Linked DNA regions of Homo sapiens: regions 1 and 2 are each linked to region 3. The links are contacts of gene promoters, found by promoter capture Hi-C in blood cells and fetal thymus (Javierre and others, 2016). All regions are on one chromosome and are shown on one strand. Each heading gives the region's core, a stretch centred on a gene start or on the middle of the fragment in contact. The rest is flanking DNA. Distances are from core to core; before and after follow the strand shown. Region 1 holds the start of CARMAL (coronary artery disease region linked MFGE8 regulatory lncRNA). Region 2 overlaps CARMAL (coronary artery disease region linked MFGE8 regulatory lncRNA). Region 3 holds the start of FANCI (FA complementation group I).

Region 1 (4,186 bases), core at 1,633-4,132, 200 kb before region 3:
TATAGCTATGTGGGTCTGTTTCTGGGCTCTCTATTCTGTTCTATTCATCTATTTGCCTATTCTTTTATCAATATCACAGTCTCTTGATTACCGTGGCTTTATAGTAAGCCTTGAAGTTGGGTAGTATCAGTCCTCCGACTTCTTCTTCTTCTTCAACATTGTGTTGGCTATTCTGAATCTTTTGCCTCTCCGTTTAGCAGTCTTTTTTCTTTCTTGTGCATGCAACAATGGTATATCTTATAATTGAGGGCATCTTAGATCTGATGAAATATGAGAGTTCCTCATGGATATTTCTAGAGATATCTTGTGCCTATAAAAGCATATACATAAAAGTATTATTTTTCTCTCAGCCGGGCACAGTGGCTCATGCATGTAATCCCAGCACTTTGGGAGGCCGAGGCAGGCGGATCACCTGAGGTCAGGAGTTCGAGACCAGCCTAACATGGTGAAACCCCATCTCTACTAAAAATACAAAAATTAGCCGGGCATAGTGGTGGGCACCTGTAATCCCAGCTACTCAGGAGGCTGAGGCAGGAGAATCACTTGAACTCGGGAGGCAGAGGTTGCACTGAGCCAAGATTGCGCCATTGCACTCCAACCTGGGCGACAGAGCGAGACTCCGTCTCAAAAAAAAAAGAGAGAAAAAGGATTATTTTTCTCTCAAGTTTATTTGTTTGGAAAACAATAATTTATTGCTCTTCCTTCCAAGTCTTTGTGAATTTACAGAAAAAAAACAAAAACAAAAACAAAAAAACAAAAAGATCAACGTTTACAGACTGTTCAGTTCAGACTAAGAATGCCAGAGATGAGTACCTGTACTGCCGTGGCTGCCGGCTACATGGCACCAATGTTCCCCAGCAGATATGCGCTAAAGTTTAAAACAAGCCCCCTCCAGATTTGTATTATCACCTTCAGAAAGGCTGTATTCCTCACACTGCATCTCACACGACATACTCAGGTCGTTAGTCACATCTGAAAATAAACTGGCCAATAAATGTGTTTCCTTCTGTGCATCTACTTTCCACGAGGCTTCATATTCAATCCACCACCTTTTTAGCCACATTTTCTCTTCTGCTGTTTGTGCTAGAAGTTGTTGCTGTTGGGCTTCTCTGTGTTTTGCCATAAATTGGAGCAAGTTCCAAGCACCAACTACCTTCCTCTTCTCATTTTCTGCTGCTTTTGCAAGTTGGTCCACAGGCTCAATTAAACCACCAACTATTTCTGAAATGGACTGATTTTGCCCACAAAATCCATGCAGTCTTCCTTGGGGTCCCTGGTCTGCTACGTAACCTCAGGGTCCCGCACCCAGGCTTGCTCAGCTCATCAAAACACAGTCCTGCTTCACCCAGGCTGTCCTGGCCTGTTTCCCTTCCAGCTTCCCCGCAGAAGAGTGATTCTGCTCTGCAGGGTGACAGTGGCGGCCAGAGGAGGTGTGTCATCGGAAAGAAAAAAGTCTGCTTGATTGTCACAGGGACCGTTCACTTAACACGTATTTCTCGAGTGTGTGAGCATCTAGTCAATGCTGCTAGATGCCAGAGAGGCAAAGATGACTGCACTTGGTCCTAGCCCCTTGGAGCACCTTGTCTGGCACTGGCCCCACTGCTGCAGCCCTGGCTGAGGTCAGCAGGCTGCTCTCCCTCAAGTCAGTGGCCACCAGAGCCTTACCTGCCAGCCCTGTCTGCCACCATGGCTGCTGGGCCTCCCTCAAGCTTATTTTTGATGTCTATATTGTGGGTCAAATTATAAGAGGCTTTAAAAGGATGAGTGTAAATGGAGGTGTCTGTCCCCTAATGGGTGCCCAGAGGAATTTTTCCATGTCAGGTAAGGATACCTTTTTTTCTGAGGCAGGGTCTCACTCTGTCTCCCAGGCTGGAGTGCAAAGGGCGATCACAGCTCACTGCAGCCTCGACCTCCCAGGCTCAAGCAATCCTCCCACCTTTGCTTCCTGAGTAGCTGGGACTACAGGTGCTTGCCATCACAGCCAGCTAATTTTTTTTTTTTTTTTTTGTATGTTTTTGTAGAGATGGGATTTCACCATGTTGCCCAGGCTGGTCTTAAACTCAGCTCAAGCTATCTGGCCCCCTCTGCCTCCCAAAGTGCTGGGATTACAGGCGTGAGCCACTGCGCCTGCCCACCCGCCCCCCACCCCCCGACTTCTTTCTTTTTAAACATTTTTGTAAACTTCTCTCTTTTTAAACATGCACACTCACTCCACCCAAGCCTCTGAAGACAGAATTCTTGACCCTATTGCACTTACGATCTAATAGAAGAGACACAGATATAATATATTATGGTTTGATATGTTCACTGCTAGAAGTTTATGCCAAGTGCTGCTAGAACATAAATAATGGAGCAGTTCATCTTTCCTGGGGATAGGAGCCAGAGCCACAGTGAGCGCTGTTGACTGGGGTCTTAAAATTAAGCTGCATATGCCAAGCAGGGAAAGCGGGAAAGAGCATTGCCAGCAAAGGGAGCAGTATGATCAAAATTCCAAAGCAGTGCGTGCCAAAGGGCGTGTCATGAGCTGGAAAAGGTATGGTAGCACTGGTCAAGATTGCAATTTCAGTGTTCTTTTTTTTTTTTTAATTGAGACAGAGTCTCACTCTGTCACCCAGGCTGGAGTGCAGTGGCGCGATCTCAGCTCGCTGCAACTTCCACCTCCTGGGTTCAAGCAGTTTTCCTGCCTCAGCCTCCGGAGTAGCTGGGATTACAGGCACCCGCCACCACACCCAGCTGATTTTTGTATTTTTAGTAGAGACGGGGTTTCACCGTGTTGGCCAGGCTGGTCTCGAACTCCTGACCTCAAGTGATCCTCTCATCTTGGCCTCCAAAAGTGCTGGGATTACAGGCATGAGTCATGGCACCCGGCCAGTTTCAGGGTTTGTTTGAAATGATCACTTAATGAGTAACTGTCTCCCCTACTAGACTGTAAACTCTATGAGGGCCGGGGCTGGGTCTGTGTTCAACCACACTATGCCCCAGTGCTGAGCATGTCATGGCATTCAAATAAATATCCGTTGGATGGATGAATGGATGGAAGAAAGGAGGGATGAAATTTTTTAATTAAGAGATGTGTGCCAATTTTGGCAAATTTGTCAAAAATTTTGAAGAAAGTTTTTCTCAGTGAATATGAATATATTCCACTTGTGAATCTATTCACAGACTATGGGCTTGCTGGAACCTAAGAGTCATCGAGTAGTTTAGACTTCTTATCAATAGATTTTTATTTATATTCATAAGAGTATATTCTTGAATATATTTACTAATGCATTCATTAACAGTATATATTCGTATTCATTGAAAACATTAAAGAAAAAATTCTTTAGAATGGACAAATCAGAATATTTCACTTTTTTTTTTTTTTTTTTTTTGAGGCAGAGTCTGGCTCTGTTGCCGGGCTGGAGTGCAGTGGCACGATCTTGGCTCACTACAACCTCTGCCTCCTGGATTCAAGCGATTCTCCTGCCTCAGCCTCCCAAGAAGCTGGGACTACAGGTGCGTGCCACCACACCCAGATAATTTTTGTATTTTTAGGAGAGGCGGGGTTTCACCATGTTGGTCAGGGTGGTCTTGATCTCTTGACCTTGTGATCCGCCCGCCTTGGCCTCCCAAAGTGTTGGGATTACAGGCGTGAGACACAGTGCCCAGCCTAGAATATTTCATAAATGTAGCAAATTGGCTTTAGGGAACTTTTTCTGCTTCCAGCATTCAGCAGCTATTTGAAGGGTTTTGGAAGCAAAGGAATGGAGGGAGACAGGACGGCACCCTGAGGGAGACGCAGGGCTGAACGGAGCTGTTCGGGGATAGCTGTGGCTTGAGTGGGTCTGTTGGCTGAAAGGAGGGATTCGTTGAAGAAGGAGCAATGGACGAGGTGAGAGAGAGGATACTGGATGGAACCAGGTTTCAGAGGAGGCTGATGGGAGAATGTGAGGAGCACCAAAGCGAGCCTTAGGAAAAAGAAGTTCAGACAGACAGACACTTCGGTAAACCACAGCTCCCAGTATTCACCACTGTGTGTAGTCTCCTCCCACACTGACTCTGGGCTTGGTCAGCTGACAAGCTTTGGCCAATAGGGCTCTAGCAAGAAGATGCCAGCAGAGGCTTGAAAAGTGCCTACCCCTGGCCTGGGATGCTTCCTCCTGGGATGCTCCCACTTGGAACCCAACTATTGTGCTGCAGAAGTTTA
Region 2 (4,162 bases), core at 840-3,339, 190 kb before region 3:
TGTGGCTAAGGGAAAATGTAGTTTACAAACTAATTGTGTAATGTGATTTTTGCTTTTTTGTTTTTACAGACTGGGTCTCACTCTGTCATCCAGGCTGGAGTGCAGTGGCGTGATCACGGCTCACTGCAGTCTTGACCTCCCGGGCTCACACAATCCTCCTGCCTCAGCCTCCTGAGTAGCTGGAGTCACCATGCCCAGCTAATTTTTAAAAATATTTTGTAGAGACAGAGTCTGCCTATGTTGCACAGGCTGGTCTCAAACTCCTGGCCTCAAGCAATCCTCTGACCACAGACTCCCAAAGTGCTGGGATTACAGATGTGAGCTGCCACGCCTAGCCTGATTTTTGCTTTTAATTAAAATTTTGTAAATGGAGGTGGGAATCCCTCTACGAATTTTTAATTTGTAACTATTCGTATCTTCCTAGGGAAAATAATAGGAAAAAAACTCACAAAACTGTTAATATTGCTCACCTCAGGAGATGGCATTGGAGATATTTGCTTAGTTACAAGAATATGTATGGATTTTGCAACTTGAATGACACAGTAAGAAAGAACACCATGCCCCAGTGCAGGATTGTGGCAGGAATTTGAATCTTTAATTCCTTCAGGCACCGGGCACAGATCGAGACCATCCTGGCTAACACGGTGAAACCCCGTCTCTACTAAAAATACAAAAAAATTAGCCAGGCATGGTGGCAGGTGCCTGTGGTCCCAGCTACTCAGGAGGCTGAGGCAGGAGAATGACGTGAACCCGGGAGGTGGAATTTGCAGTGAGCCGAGTTCGCACCACTGCACTCCAGCCTGGGCGACAGAGCAAGACTCCATCTCAAAAAAATAAAATAAAAAAATAAAATTCCTTCAGGGTGCTTGCAAAAGATAGAACAGTGCAATGAAAAAAATCAGACCCAGCAGCACTACTTATTACAACATGACCTTGAGTGAGTCATTCACCTCACTGGGCCTCAGTTTTCTTGTCTGTAAAATGGGACAATAGCAATCTCTACCTGTCAGAGTTTGTGTGCAGGCAGTCAGGAAATATAGTCAGTAGGCATTAAATTTTTTTCACACTGTTAATCCAGTTTATAAGTGATACCTTTTTTTTTTTTTTTTTTTTTTGAGATGGAGTTTTGCGCTTGTTGCCCAAGCTGGAGTGCAATGGCGCCATCTCGGCTCACTGCAATCTCCGCCTCCCGGGTTCAAGCGATTCTCCTGCCTCAGCCTCCTGAGTAGCTGGGATTACAGGCACACGCCACCACGCCCGGCTAATTTTTTGTATTTTTAGTAGAAATGGGGTTTCACCGTGTTAGCAGGCTGGTCTTGAACTCCTGACCTCAGGTGATCCGCCTGCGTCAGCCTCCCAAAGTGCTGGGATTACAAGCATGAGCCACTGCGCTAGGCCAGCGTGATACCATTTTTAAAAGTGTTAAGTGAAAAGGGTAAAGGATCTATTGAAGCCCCTTTGTAAGCATGTGAGTTCTGCTTGAGAAGCCACCCCCGGGTTAGCTCTTCTAAGCTGCTCATAGCTAATTCCCTTCCTTCATCTCCACTTCCCTTTGGGGTTTGGCGCAGTGATGATGGGGTTTCTGAAGATGAGGTAGGGCAGGGGTTACACAGTGACCACTGGGAAGTTGGGGACTGGCCGCCTCTGGAACTCCAAGGATTGATTTTCATGGTTAGCAAACAGCTGAGAGTTCTTTGGGAAGCTTCAATGGTGAAAATGCTATTTTTGGTAAGAGGGTAAGAATACAGCCCCTTCTTGTTTAGCCATGGTCGTGGAATCACGGTGGGGGCGTGCCTGGTGCATGGGCTCCTGAGAGGCAGGCCCCGTTGGGCTCACCCCCATTCCTGCTGCCATTCCCTCCATGGCCTCAGGGTGGCGCTGCTCCCTCTCCAACTGGGGCCATCTATTGCCACCATGCGGCTTCCCAGTGAAACCCGCTATTAATAAGAAGGAATGAAAAAAAAAAAAGAAAGAAACAAACCTGCCAGAACTTTCCAATCACACTGTCCTAAAAGCTGAGGACTAAGAAAACGAAGATAGATTCAGGGGACACCGTGAGTCAAAACTTTAGTTTGCCAGGTCTGACTTCTTTCCTGCAGCTCTTCGCCCTCTACCCAGTCCATCAGGGACCCCAGGACTAGGACTCCCTAGCTCCCCACTTACAAATTAAGCCCACCAACATTTGTGGGGCGCCAGGCAAGAGAACGAATGGAAGCTCACATACTCTATGTCTGCATATTTTCAAGTTGTTCAGTCAAGCTGATAAACCCTTAAATGAAGTATGCTCCATCCTTCCGCCTTGAGGTAGATACCTTCATAACCACCTAAAAGACCAGGTTGACTTTTAGGATTTTCAGCCTCCTTGGAGATCCATTCCCCTGGCTCTCCACTTCTGGCCCCAGGTCCACCCACCCACGCTCATCCTTTCAGATCGTGAGGAGCCTCACATACGTGTGGATACTCCAGCTCACACATCCAAGCTTCCTCCACACCCACACCCCTTACAACCCTGAAAACAGCTACCCCTTGGCCACTCCTAGTACCTAGCATGTGAACACAGGTAGTGAGGTCCACTCTTGGGAAGAGAGACCTAGAGAAAATGAAGATGCCCCGCAGGCACAGAAGAGGGCTTGCTGTAATTTGGACAGAAACTCTGGGGTCCTGGTACACGGAGCCTAGTCTTGGGTGGGTGTATGGACTCCCTTTGTAGAAAGGAACATGGCCCGAGGAGGTGCACAGCAGGAGCTTCTCCTGCTCTGGGCCCAGGGGATGGGGACAAGGAGAGATGACATCCTTAACTCCCTCCATCCCTCAGGAGTGCCCCTGGACATCGAGACTCCTGGAAATCTGGGTTGTGACAGGCCAAGTCCCTTCTTAATTCCTCTTTCCTGCTGTGGAGCCCCCTCATGTCCAATGATTGGCAGCAGGAAAGACCTCACTCTTCAGACAAGACCATAGTATCTGCCCTTGAAGCCTTTCTCTTTCAGCCCTCAACAATATCTCAATAAAAACAGCAATCCAACGTTGGACAGAAGCCTGCAGTAATGGGTGGTGGCGCAGAAGCCATCCTTTCAAGGGCACAGAGTGCCATTTCTCTCTCAAGGGATGGATAATTCCTGCCTTAATGCAACCTTCATCTGCCTAGTCACCAGCTGATGGGAAAGCAGCTCCAGCGAAAGATAAGGGCTCTTTGCCTGAAATGAAAAATTCATGAAGGAAGACTAGGAATGGGGCACGCAGAGAGCTGCCAAGTTGCTGTGCTCTGAGGACCTGACAAGAAGCTCAAAAAGCCAAATGGAAATTTTCTCTCCTCTCCAGCATCTCCCATCATGCCCTCTTCCATGTTTGGGGCTCTCTTCTCTGCTGTACCTGGTCACAGCTCTGCAGTCTCACCAATGCCCATATGCCAGGGGATCCAGGAAGAGGGGTACATCTGCCCACCCAGGCGAGCCACTTGACACCCACTCACATCCTCACAAAATGTTCGCTGTGGCTAGACAAGCTGGCATGGTTCTGACCACCTACCTGCCTAGACCAGACCTGGAGGAAATCCAAACTGGCTATTTATTTGTCCCTGGGAGACGCCTACAGATTACTTCCTGTTCCAATTTTCTGACCCACAGATCTGATCAAAATTCGTTAGGTTGATCATTGGTCACAACTCATAACTTGGGAAGGCAGCCCTGAATTTCTTGTCACAATGTTGGGCAGACAGTGGTATGGATGAAATGAAAGGGGAAAAAAACCTCTTGAACCATGAATTGGAGAATTTAACTCTCTCATAGGGATGGGCTTGAGAAGTACGACCGGCTACCCCATAATATACAGAATGGCACAGCAGTCGCAGGTGCCATTCCAGAGATGGTGGGTTCGAGGGCAGTAATTGATCCCCAGAAATTAGGTAGGAGGGCAGGCTGCCATCGCAGAGGAATCTGCCACCAAGGAAGTCCACCAGACTCTACTGTCAATGGGAAATGGGAAACTTGAGTCTCCTATTGCAGAGCCGCAGTTCCTTCTTCCTGCTGCAGGGTCCGTGGCCGAAGGAAAACCTCATTCCACTGTCCCCTGCCCAGGCCAGCTGTGGAACGCAGGTCCTCCATGAACTTGGGGGCCCCTCTTGGTCTCCCAGTGCATTGGCTCTTGGTTCCCAGGTCTTCCAGGC
Region 3 (3,826 bases), core at 908-3,407:
TTCCAGGGCCCAGATAGGCCTTTTCCTAGGTCCACCCTTCCTAGAGTGGACCTGCTAGTATGTACAGCCCTAGACCCAAAGGGTGGCTACAGGGCAGCTTTGTGGGGGACTCATGGTGTGGATCTTCAGGCTGGGTGTCCACATGCAGGCATAGGAAGCCTGAGACCTCACACTGTAGGACTGAGTTGGGAATGGTAAGGGGCTTCCATTTGTACTTTTTCTCTGGACTCCTGTAAATATTAGTAGCTATAATGTTGTTAAGATAAACAAGTACTATTGACAAGGTCTGAAGAACATTTAGTTCCATTACTGTAAACCTGTTTTTAACTGGATGTATTTTCTAGAATCAGTGTATCACTAGCTTCTCAGTGTATAGTGTCTAGTCAGTGAACCAGACGGATAAGATTTGCTCCTTAGTTAAGGAAGCCTGCACCAGGGTGAAAAACCGTTGTTGTTAATCTGAATGAATCTGTTCTTCTCTTCTTTTGCATATGTAACACTTATTAATGCAAATGGAAAACACAGATGATGCATTCGTGCAACAAGAGGAGACAAGAACCCTGAGGCATCAATGCCAGTGGGTAGACACACAGGCAATTCAGTAAGTACGTCTGGGATGCGCCAGTGGAGGCTCGGAGAGGCTAATGAGCTTGTTCTAGCTACCCAGACCCACAGATTCATGGCTGAATCCCAGAAGCAGCCTGGGAGATTTTGTGGGGAGATGAGGCAAAGTCATCTACTTCCTTGGCAAGGTAAAGGATTCCTTTCAGGAATCATCTTCTACCTCAAGCTGCCGTGTTTTAGTTAAACATCACAGCTCAGTATTGGGACAGAAATGTAGAAGGAAAAAAATGCTGAAGGGTCACAAGCAAGGAGCAGGTCTAGACAGCTGAGAGGAACCATTCTCCTCCAATAGCTCTGTTTCTTCAATAACTGGCCATGTAGACCCGTTCTACCCCCGAGGGCTGGGAGTCGAGTCAGGTTCCAGACTGAAATGCTCCCTGATCTTAGCATTCCTTCACTTGCCATCCCACAGGCACCTCAAATTTGGTGCGTCCAACTCTGAAGGGCTCATCATCACCCCATCATCCTTTTCCTGTGCTCCCTGTGTTAGTCAACTGCAGGATTAACTCCCCGCCCCCCAACCCCAGTCGCTCAAGCCTGAACATTCCTCAACAACGCCCACACCCCCTCAAATCCGGATATTTGGGCTTCCTAAATCTCTACCTCCTAATCTCTTTCACATGCGGTCCACTCCTTTCTGTCCCCATTGCCAAGGTTGGGCCACCACCACCTATCTTTGGGACAACTTACAGTCTTCTAAGGGGGGTCCTGCCTTCGGTCCGCCCCACCTGGCTCATCTCTTTTCAACAGTTTCTGCGGTCCTCACCTGCCCGAGACAGCAGTCTACAATGCGAACACAGTCATGTCCTTCCCCTTCAGCGGTTCCCCACTGCCCCCAATATGAAAAGGAGTTAGAAACCCCTGCCTTCCCACTCCCACCGAGCACCTTCGCCTTCTGAACTGGCCAGGGGCTCTGTTGCTTGCTCGTTGCTCTCAGACCCTTTGCGCAAGGTGCTCCCTCAACCCAAAATAGAATCTCGGCCCACCCTCTGTCGGTCTTCGCCCCACTGTCAGTTGTTCATTTAACAAATATTCGCTGCTTTTGCCAGGCTATGCAATAAACGCTGGGGTTACGCAAGGGGAGCGCAAAACAAAACAAAACAGAGAACAAACAAAAACCACAACTCCCAAAAGTCCATTAAGACCCCTAGCCACAGGGGGCTTACATCTGAGGGGTTACCGTCCCTTGGCACAAGGTGGAGTATGAAATCCGCCTCTGCCTTCCAGGCTTTTCCAGTGCCAAGACCTGCGGGGCCACCAATTGTGAGTCCCCTCCCGCACTGACTACTCCCTCAACAGGACAGGAGGGAAGCTGAACCTGTCGGGACACCGCGCTGGGCACGCTCAGGTCCCACCGCGCGTGCTCATCGGCGGTCCCTAGCGCGAGTTCGGACAGGCAGCGCCCCCCTCCGACTGTGAGCTGGGACGCTCCCGCACGCTTCCCGGCACCCCTTCAGTCTTCATGGTACACCCCGCCCGCAGGTACCCGGACGGCGGAAGTGAGCCGCGGGGGCGGATCTTGTTGTTACGGGTAACGGAAGTGTGGCGGCGTTGGGTTGAGCGGGCTTTTTGGAAGTTTGTGGCGGAGGTGAGGCCGAGGTGACTGCAGAGCGGCTCGCGAGGTGCTCGGGCTGTGGGACTGGGCCCCTGGGAGGGAGCGGTTCTGTGGGGGAAAGGAGGCTCCTGTCCTGACTTGGCGTTCTGGTATTTTCTCTGGCGTGGAAAGTAGGCGCGCTCCGCTGTCTCCCGCCGCCTGCCTCAGCTTTCGCGGTTCCCTCCTAGGGGTGTGCCTCAGTCGGAGCCCCTTCTGTTAAATTCTTCCCCCTTGGCCGAGGGTGAGCTCTTACTTCTGAGAAATTTCCCTTAACCTTGCTTTGCATTTGTTGTCCGGTCGCGGTCTCCATCACCAGCTGCTTCGTGTTATAGTTTTTGTATTTGCGCTCACGGCTTGTTAACTGAAGAACCCGGAAGGGAAGGCCGCGGCGTTTCCCGCCGGCGGGGCTCTGCCATTCTCGGATCTTGGCTTCAGATCTCTGATGCTCCCCAGCGTCTCTTGGCAAGGAATCTACTTCGCGTTCAGGGAATTCACAGCCACCCGCCTCTGGTCTTACCTCTGGTTTTAGGATGATTTTAGCAAATGTGCCTAGGTTGATTTAAACGTATCCCCCTCCGAAGCCGCCTGCCCCTTCTGGCTGGACACCTTTTTAGGTTGGTGTGTCCTGTTTGCATCCGGTAGTTCAAAGCATGGGATCTTGGAGTCCGGAGCTGGACAGACTCGGGTTTCACTTCTCTCTCTGCCACTTGGTAGCCTTCTAATCTTGGGGGAAATTCCCTAATCTCTGAATCCCAAAAGTTGTTCATCTAAAATGGGGCTAATATTACACCTACCTAGTAGGTGGTGTTGTGGGAGTCATGTTAATGAATGTAAAGTGCTGGGTTCAGTGTTTTCCCTATTATAGGGGTTCAATAATTTGTTCAACAAACATTTGTTACCTAGTTTGAGCTAGGTACTGTGCTAAGTGCTGGAGATACAATGATAAACAAAACCAGCTACGGCCCGTGTCCTTAGGGGACTTATAGTCTAGTGGGAGATAACATTTGTTAATCTGATAATTACACATGTAATATTAAAAATTGGTGACAGTATGTAAGAGAGTTTACTGGTGCCATGAGAGGATGTACTAGGGGAACGTTTAACAACCTATACTGAGCTTTTCTTTTCTTTTCTTTTCTTTTTTTTTTGAGACAGAGTCTCCCTCTGTTGCCAGGCTGGAGTGCAGTGGCGCGATCTCGGCTCACTGCAACCTCCGCCTCCTGAGTTCAAGTGATTCTCCTGCCTCAGCCTCACAAGTAGCTGGGACTACAGGTGCGTGCCGTCACGCCCAGCTATTTTTTTTTTTTTTTTTTTTTTTTTTTTTTTTTTTTGTATTTTTAGTAGAGACGGGGTTTCACCATCTTGGCCAGGAAGGTCTGGATGTCTTGACCTAGTGATCCGCCCGCCTTGGCCTCCCAAAGTGCTGAGATTACAGGCGTGAGCTACTGCGCCTGGCCTAGACTGAGCTTTTGAGGAGATGTGGATTGAGCTAAGATCTGAAGGATTTGTAGGAATTAGTAATAAAAGATTGGGGGGCAGTGGATGGAAGCAGGAATATTTATTTAAGTTCCAGATGGAAACATGTGGAAGGGCCTGTGGCAGAAAGAA

What was found. Contacts are between HindIII fragments. The CHiCAGO score rates a contact against its expected background, and 5 or more counts as called.
Region 1: a contact is called between a fragment that was not itself captured here and the fragment with the promoter of FANCI in region 3, in 1 of 17 cell types (neutrophils). The highest score is 5.5, in neutrophils.
Region 2: a fragment that was not itself captured here is called in contact with the fragment with the promoter of FANCI in region 3 in 5 of 17 cell types (erythroblasts, neutrophils, megakaryocytes and 2 more); the score reaches 7.0 in erythroblasts.

The regions. Positions count from the first base shown.
Region 1 is chr15:89,036,927-89,041,112 of GRCh38, forward strand. CARMAL (coronary artery disease region linked MFGE8 regulatory lncRNA) reads left to right here and starts at 4,072. Exons shown (of 4, transcript NR_183882.1): 1 at 4,072-4,186. It also overlaps a transcript of ABHD2 not described here. The HindIII fragment of the contact is 2,351 bases long and covers 1,708-4,058 here.
Region 2 is chr15:89,055,816-89,059,977 of GRCh38, forward strand. All of the region lies in intron 1 of CARMAL (coronary artery disease region linked MFGE8 regulatory lncRNA), which reads left to right. It also overlaps a transcript of ABHD2 not described here. Among named protein-coding and RNA genes, the nearest start is that of CARMAL, 17 kb to the left of the region's middle. RefSeq lists an enhancer at 3,520-4,020. The HindIII fragment of the contact is 778 bases long and covers 1,701-2,478 here.
Region 3 is chr15:89,241,822-89,245,647 of GRCh38, forward strand. It overlaps FANCI (FA complementation group I), which reads left to right and starts at 2,158. Exons shown (of 38, transcript NM_001113378.2): 1 at 2,158-2,212. RefSeq lists an enhancer at 2,361-2,740. The HindIII fragment of the contact is 10,185 bases long and covers 1-3,826 here.